Linked DNA regions of Homo sapiens: regions 1 and 2 are each linked to region 3. The links are contacts of gene promoters, found by promoter capture Hi-C in human tissues and cell types (Jung and others, 2019). All regions are on one chromosome and are shown on one strand. The core of a region is centred on a gene start or on the middle of the fragment in contact, and the rest is flanking DNA. Distances in the headings are between cores, read along the strand shown. Region 1 has its middle 5.8 kb from the start of LINC03024. Region 2 has its middle 24 kb from the start of ST3GAL1. Region 3 holds the start of ZFAT (zinc finger and AT-hook domain containing).

Evidence for each region. Contacts are between HindIII fragments. The study calls those that stand out against the background at their distance.
Region 1: a fragment that was not itself captured here is called in contact with the fragment with the promoter of ZFAT in region 3 in 1 of the 25 tissues and cell types used here (lymphoblastoid cells).
Region 2: a fragment that was not itself captured here is called in contact with the fragment with the promoter of ZFAT in region 3 in 1 of the 25 tissues and cell types used here (spleen).

Annotation. Positions count from the first base shown.
Region 1 is chr8:133,688,530-133,691,229 of GRCh38, forward strand. No RefSeq gene overlaps it. Among named protein-coding and RNA genes, the nearest start is that of LINC03024, 5.8 kb to the left of the region's middle. The HindIII fragment of the contact is 4,956 bases long and covers 1-2,700 here.
Region 2 is chr8:133,594,814-133,597,513 of GRCh38, forward strand. No RefSeq gene overlaps it. Among named protein-coding and RNA genes, the nearest start is that of ST3GAL1, 24 kb to the left of the region's middle. The HindIII fragment of the contact is 9,177 bases long and covers 1-2,700 here.
Region 3 is chr8:134,711,772-134,714,471 of GRCh38, forward strand. ZFAT (zinc finger and AT-hook domain containing) reads right to left here and starts at 1,260. Exons shown (of 16, transcript NM_020863.4): 1 at 1,074-1,260. The coding sequence starts at 1,092. RefSeq lists an enhancer at 1,092-1,271. The HindIII fragment of the contact is 14,984 bases long and covers 1-2,700 here.

The sequences.
Region 1 (2,700 bases), core at 75-2,574, 1.0 Mb before region 3:
TCACAGTTATGAAGTGACTCATCCAGGGTCTAAGGTTCACGCTTCTCTCCTTCTTCCTGCTCAGCTTCCTCAGAGGGGGGCCATGGCAGGATGGTAACCAGAGAAATGGCACCCAGATGTGCAGGGCTTCTTAGGAGGTGCCCCCAGAGCTCACAAAGTACATTCATACACCTGGAATCCTCCCTGGGCAGGTACGCATGGGATAATAACAGCCTTTCACTGGACACTCACCCTGCGCCAGGTAATGAGAAAGTCTTTTATATTCTGTTTTCATGTGCTGAATCTTCCTTCCAGCATTCACAAAACAAGTGGATTTGATCATCCCTATCCCTTAGCTGAGGAAGAGGAGGGTCAGATAGTTTCTGAAACCTTCTCTAAGTCACACAGCAAGTAAGCTGGAATCAAAATGCAAACCAGGTCTACCTGACTCCAGAGATTTCACTCTGGAAAACAAACAATCAAAGAAACAAACTCTGTGAGCAAAAATGTTTCTGGGATTTCACAGGCATCAGTGTAAAACCCCAGATTCAGTCTTGCAAAACCCATTGGCTTTAAAATAGATGGAAGAGAAGTGGCTTAGAGACAGATCATGTGTCCAGTAACTGAGGCTTTATTTGACCACATGATGGTGTGACCCAGATCCTCAAAGCCACACTAAGAGCAGTTGGTGAGTGGGTGGCCACCAAGAGACTAGAAGTGGCATTGGGCTGACCTCGGTCCAGTCCCTACCTATGCATGCAAAGCTTGAGAGGTCTCTGACGTTGGAACAGGCTGTCTGTGAGCAAGTGAGTCCCTGGCACTGGAGGTATGCAAGGATGCATGCTTATCAAGGAAATTGTAAAGGAGACTCCTGCCCTGGATAGGAGGTAGCTGAGCAGGTAAAGTGAAGCCCAGAGAGAGGAAGGAACTGTCCAGAGGGTCCATGGTGCATTGAGGGCAGGACCAGATCTCTGTCTGCAGAGTCTTAGAGGCATCATGAACGTGGAGGAAAGTGACATGCAGGTCACTCTTGGCCTGAGTCACCACTTGAATTAACAGCTTTGCATATTCTACCTAGTGTTTCCTCGCCCAGACCAAGGCCTCAGATTTGTAAAGTGGGGGGTGGACAATTGTTAGGCAGTAGGGGGTTGGAATTCCCTTTTGCAGGCCGGGCTGTGTGAGCCATAAACATTTGTCATAGAAACCCTGGATTTACAGGGACAAAGAGCCCTGAGCACAGGAACAAATGGACTCAAGGCCCATAACTCCTCTCCATCAATCTTTTCTTCTGGATTGTGCAAGACTCTGGCGATTGCATACAGCGGCTCCTGGCAGCCTCGAGTGATGGACAGGGGTAGCGATAAGAGGCACATTTCTGGGAAGAAAGAATGTGCTTGGCCTGGCAGGATGAGGTCGAGGGAGTTGACAGGGAGCCCAGATATAAAACAGACCCTACACACAGAGATATGTGGACAAGGCTCTCCAGTATCCTAGTTGGGATGGGAGGCAAAGATTGGCCAAACTATCTCCAAGAGAGGGCAATTTGGAAGGGGCAGGAGTTGTAGCAATGTTTCTTCTAACTATTTTAAAAATTGTATTTTCAGCTGCCACCTTTTATGGAATCAACAGCAAACTTAATTTCTTTTTGGAAAATGGTTTCGCATTGGGGGATAATGAGTGAAGGTGCTTATCCTCCACATGTAAAGGGCAGGCTCAGACTTGAAATTAGACATTGTAGGGAATCTCCTGCGGCTTTGCATCTTGACAAAATAAGACAAAATCAGAAAGAACGAGAAGAAGACAATCAACCACAGCTGGTTGCATGCATCTTAGAAGCAATCCTCTGCTACCTGAGAGCTCTTAAAGCACTGCAGTGAACAGAAAATGCAGCTCTTATCTGGCTTGAAACATAAATGTATTGGCTCAAATAACTAAAAAGTCCAGACATAGATGTTGACTTGGGGTTTGGTTTTTTCCTTCCATCATCTCTTGGCTGGGCCTCCTGTGACACTTGCTCCACCGCCTGTGACATTGGCTCCATTATCTACACAGGTATTGTGTTCATGGTGGCAAAATGGTTGCAGTAGCTCCTTCGTGCATCCCTCCAGGGTCAGACCTGGTGGAAAAGGGCAAATGCAGGGTTTGCTGGACTGAGGTTAAATTGCCTGCCCTCTGTCTTGAGTCAGCCACTCTTCCCTGAACCCATCACTGAAACCAGGAAGAAGGAATGTACCAATATTTTTAGACAGAGGGCTTATGTTCCAGCCCAGGCATGGGGGTAAAGTCAGCACCACCAGAATCATGTGGATGGAGAATAGTGGGTGGATGGATCCACAAGTGAGAGTTGAGGGGTGCTGGAATCATTAGTGTGAGAGAATGACAACAGGTAGCCAAAAAAATCAACAAAAGTCCATTGTAGCCTGGGCAGGTGGCTCATCTACAATCCCAGCACTTTGGGAGGCTGAAGCAGGAGGATGGCTTGAGACCAGGAGTTCGAGACCAGCCTGGCCAACATGGCAAAACCCTGTCTCTACTAAAAATATAAAAATTAGCCAAGCATGGTGGCACATGCCTGTAATCCTAGCTACTTGGGTGGCTGAGGCACAAGAATCGCTTGAGCCTGGGAGGCGGAGGTTTCAGTGAGCCAAGCTTGCGCCACTGCACTCCAGCCTGGGCGACGGAGTGAAACTCTGTCTCAGAAAAAAAAAAAAGCTCATTGTA
Region 2 (2,700 bases), core at 48-2,547, 1.1 Mb before region 3:
AACTTGCTCAATTACAGGTTTGTAATTATTAAGAGGGATGCAAACCCAGGCAGTTGGTTCCAAATTCCGTGCGTTGAACTGGTTTCCACTCCTGTAATACTCACCATACCTCTTCAATATCCATCGACAGCCAAAGGCTCTCTTTTTCTCTCTCCTTCACCTTTCTTCCCTTCCTCTCTCTCTTTAGCCATCCCAATTAATGAGAGTAGAAATTACTTTGTTTTAGAATCTGTCTCAGCCTGGCTTTCCCAGAAAGCTGAGGCTAATGAAAACCTGACATGCTGCTACTTTACCAGAGAGAATGATCCCAGAGAAGCTGGAGAGAGAGAGAGAAGGAGGTAGGCAGGGAAGGAAGGGGACAAATGAGAGGTCGTGTTACCAAGCTGGCCACATTTGGTGCCAAGTGCACTGAGTGTTCTATCTCCTGGACTGTCTTCCAGGATGCTTAGGGACTACAGCACCTCGGAACAGACTGTGAAGGTGGGAGGAGGGAGGGAGCAGAATGTCTGTACTATTTCCCATCAGCCCTACTTCCCATCAGCCCACGGTTCTCCCCATGGACATTACCTTTCCTGCCCTGTCCAGGGTACTGGTGCACAGCCATGGCTGGGGGATGGGTGTCTCCCACTTCAGCAACCACAGAGAGATGGACCCCTTGAGAAGACTGTCATGGTAGTGGTGGGGGCGGGGGCCTGAGCCCATGCAGAGTTGGGGTGGAACAGCAACAGCTGGGGTGGCCAGGGTAGCGAGACAGGAGAAGCTGTGAGGAGCTGAGGGGACTCCTGGGGGAAGAGGGGGTCTGTTCCACCTGCCCTGTAGAGTGCAGAATCCTCTCGACATTCAGATCTGGCCAGGAGTTTTCAGTCCAGTGTATTCTCCTCATTCCAGTCATATCCTTAGGCTAATTGTCTGTAATTTGAGATGCATCTCTTAATTTCTATCACTTTTCCATTTATTACATGAAACAGTAAAAAGATCCAGTAAGAACATGAATTGGAAAGGGACATGTCCAAGATTACACAACTGGTGGTAGAGCCAAAAGAAAAATCTAGCTGTTCCAGGGACCTGAGATAGTTTTCAAGCAGCATTTCAGAGTAAGAAACTTTTGACTGTCTCCAAGCCCACAGCTGAAGGAGCCCACAGGACAAACCACATGAGCCCATTTGCAAACAGACATTCACTCCCTCACATCCCTCCTGCACATCTGGAAGTACAAGCTCACAGTGAGTCAAGAAAATGACTTTTCTTTGTTCTCTAACATCTGAGCTGTCAAAAAAGGTTTTATACATTTATTTATTTATTTATTTATTTATTTGGACACAGTCTCACTCTGTTGCCCAGGCTGGTGTGCAGTGACACAATCACAGCTCACTGCAGCCTCAACCTCCCTGAAACAATCCTCCCACTTTAGCTTCTTCAATAACTGGGACCACAGGTGTGCACCACCACGCTGATATTTTTTTATAGAGATGGGGTCTCCCTGTGTTGTCCAGGCTGATCTTAAGCTCCTGGTCTCAAGCTATCCTCCTGCCTTGGTCTCCCTACATGCTGGGATTATAAGCATAAGCCACCTCACCTGGCCATGCACTCAATTTATAACCCAATGTCCCTGCTTGAAGATGGGATCAGTGGATAATAAACACACCCCTGCTTTGCCTTACTGTGAAAGAGGTTAACTAATTATTCAATATATTTGGTAATTTTTGATAAAATGTATTATAAGAATAATAGTCGTTTTTTAAGTGCTTCTTAGTTCCCAGAGACCGTGCTGTATATCCATCAGAATGGTTAGCAATTTTTATGCAATTCTTATATTCCAAGCATTTCTCAATGTGGGGCGACATGTATGACCCATGCAACCTTCCAGACAGTCCTGGGAGACAGATTTGGTCGTGAATATCTCTATTTTACAGAGGAGGTAAATGAGGACAGAGAAGTTCAGTAACTTGCCCCACATCACACGACTGGTGGGAGGTGGAACTGTGATTACAGACCAGGCATTTATTCTAGAATTTACCTTCTATACTTCTCCTCATTGCTTTTTAAGGCTCATGAGGATCCAAATTTGGCCCCTGTGCTGCCAAGTTGCAATCTTGCCTGAAGGACAAAGTGCAAACTCTTTGTAGAATATACTACCCAGCCAGCCTCCCCAACCCCACCACCCCGTTTACCCTCTGCTCCCCCTGCCTGTGTCAGGAAAAGTACAATCCAACTCCTGAACCTGCTACATTCTAAGTCCATGACCCTGAACAGTCATTTTCACCTCTCTGAGGCTCCGTCTCCTTATCTGCAGAAGGAGGAAAATCCCTTTCTTTAAGAGGGTCTTTCGAAGAGCGACAGGCATTGTGTGGATAACCCCTAACTCAGTTCCAGGAACACAGAGGCGTTTAGCCAATACCTGTTTTCTTCCCTTTCCTCTTCTGAACTTCTGAACTTGCAGTGAGATTACTTTGTTGTAACGTATCTGCCTTCCAAATGCCCCCAGCCAAAATGCTTCTCTGCACTTTGCACATGCCAGGAGAGTCAGCACACTCTTATATTTATCAGGTCGTGTGTCCGTCCTTTTCTAGGGTTATTTAAGGTGAGGCTTCTGGTTTTACCCCTTTGTGACTGACTGCCCCATACCCAACATAGTTTCCGATAGATACAGAACTTAATAGCTAATGCCTGTTGAATGAAGTAGGAAACAACTGAAGACAA
Region 3 (2,700 bases), core at 10-2,509:
GACTGCTCTTTACCCCTGCCTGGCGTGCAGAGGGGATCCTTGCAAAGCTGTTATTTGAACTAAAGTCAGGAAAGGTGTCCCTGGGGGTTAGAGGTAGGACACGCTACTTCCTTCAGCATGGGGACACACACTACAGATGTTTCAGTAGATGAACTGGTAGGCTCGGAAGATAAAGCTGGTGAGAGGCAGCTGTGCGGGGCATCTCCAAAAGGTCACTTGGACTCCAGCAAAAAAAGCCAGACTGATGGGCAGGCGTGATCAGTTAGCGCGTTCGTTCTTTCATTCACTAAGTATATAGTGAACACTTACATGAGCCAAGCCCTATTCTAAGAAGATGGAGGTACAAGTCAGGCGAGCACGCAGGAGTTTGGATTTTAGCCCAAGTTGGAGGAAGTTAATTTTTAAAGCCCCAGCTCTGTCGTTTTTAAACTGTGTAAAGTTGACCTCTCTGAACTTCTGTTCCTCATAATAAATGACCTACAAATTAGAGTTCTCAAGAGAGCTGAGCAGCAAAACGTGTTAAGTCAGTGCCCAAATGTGGAAGCTTGTGGTAATTACAGGTGAAGGACCCCAAGCTCAAGGTTAAATGACTTGCACCGGGTGTCAAGTGGAAGATCTGTCACTCTATTAGGTCCAGCCGGCGGCCGGGAAGCCTGCAGGAGGTACTCATTTCGCCAAGGAGGAATCCGAGGCCAGGCAAGAAGGAAGCCCCGCCAAGGTCCAGTCAAAGAGCTGGCATCGCCGGGATTCGAACCTCGCGCCCACTGCGTTCCGTCGCTGGCCCGCGCCCCAACGCCACCCATTGCCGTGGAAACGGCCGGGCGCATGCTCTCCCACTCGCTCCCGCCTTGCTTTTTTTTTTTTTTTGCGGCGGGATACCCCAGCGACTGAACGTGAGCCGCAGAACGCAACTACGTTCGCTCTCCTCCCCAGACCCGGATCCCTCCGCGGCCGGCGGCCGGCGGCCGGCGGCCGGCGCACTGCTTCCCGACTCGACGCTCGAAACGGCTTTCCGCGCGCCGCGCCGCGCCCCACCCCCACCCCGTCTCACCCCAACCCCCAGCCCGGCTCACCTGCCGCCCGCGTCTCCATGGCAACGCCCCACCGCGGAGGAAAAAAAAGCCTCGGGCTCTTCCGGGCCCCCTCCCGTGCCGACCGAGGGGGCGGGGCGCCCTGCTGACGCTTCGCTTTTTATTTTTATTTTTTTAAGAAAAGAGCCGGCGAGGTTATGGCGAATCTGCGGCATCCAACATGGCGGATGGAGTCTTCGCCCTCCTCCCCACGGGGCGCAGACGCCTGCGTAGCGGACGTCCGCTTCGGGTGACCCTCCCCCGGCGCCGAGCGCGGCCCGGCAGGGCCGAGCTAACGCGCATGCTCGCAGTCGGAGGCCGTGCTTTTTATCCCACTTCACGGATTCCGCTGCGCCGCGTTTTGAGCCACGCCCAGGGAGGGGCCCTCGGGAGGTCCGGAGCGCGGATCTCGGGGTCAGGAGTCTGGCGGTTGTGCCAGGCCTCTGCTAGCGCGACCCTAGACCCGCGGCATGTGGGGCCGCCGAGCTGGGCGTGCAAGGAGAGTTCTGGGTGCGCTTCGTGTCCCAGCTCTACCTCTCACTACCTAACTTGGGGCAGCGAATTAACTTTTCTTGCTCTCAGTTTACTGATGTGTCCATCGGGGTGCTCCCAACCTGCATCCCGCTCAAAGCTGCGGCGTTTCCCGAAGCGTGGGGTGCTTTCCTTTGGGCCACCCGGCTGGGTTTTAGGGGCTACAGAGCACTGAGCGGCCTACGATCACACGTGACAAGGCGACTTCCTCCTCTCTCGTCTCTTTTTGTCCCACAACAAGTCTGCACTGGATGTGCGCGCCTCCAACACCCGCTCATTCATTTCTCTGCTTGTGGCACAGCCTTCGGCAGGCAGCTGAGTCTGGTGGAAATTTAATGACTTTGTTTTTGGTTTTGATGTTAAGGTGTTTAGCTCCAACACTGTAGTCCTCGGCTCAAATGATATCTTCCAGCCCCTAACCCTCACCCCCCGAAACCCATCTAAAGTAACCCTCCAAGACACTTCATATTTTCTACGTAGCATCCATTCCTATCTGTCATTATCTCCCTCCCTTACCTCTGTCAATGGTCACCCCGTTAGCCTCAGAAACAAACTGAGCCTGACAGTTATTTATTTCATGAGTAATGAGTTGATGTGGTCCATGTTCTAAGGTCATTTTCTGTTCATGACAAATAACGTTTTTCACTTACAGTAGTCATATAAAGTTTTTAAATTGTTCGTTTACATTTTCAAAAATCAGTCAACTTAAAATGGTGTACATGCTGCAAAGACATGCCCCCCCCCCCCCAAAAAAAAAAAGTGTAAAAGCAGACTTCAGGAGACTGAAGTTTGGGAAACTGATTTGTGTTCATGGTTCCCCTGAAATGCTAGTCTTTGCCTGTTCTTCTTTTCCTGGAATAACCCTCTTTGGTTGCTGCTCAACATGAAATTCTCGGACAGCCCTGAAGTTCACACTTCATGTTCCCACAGCTCTGGTCTCACTGGCCTAGCTCCATCCCCCACTTCTCTGTTTGCACAGCGTTCATCCTCACTAGACTGAGCTTCCTGAGCAGCCCTTATAGGTCCTTTTCATCTTGTTTTCTCAGCGCCTGTTGCATAGTCATATTACTGAATGAACACTTCGTTCTGGGGTCACTTA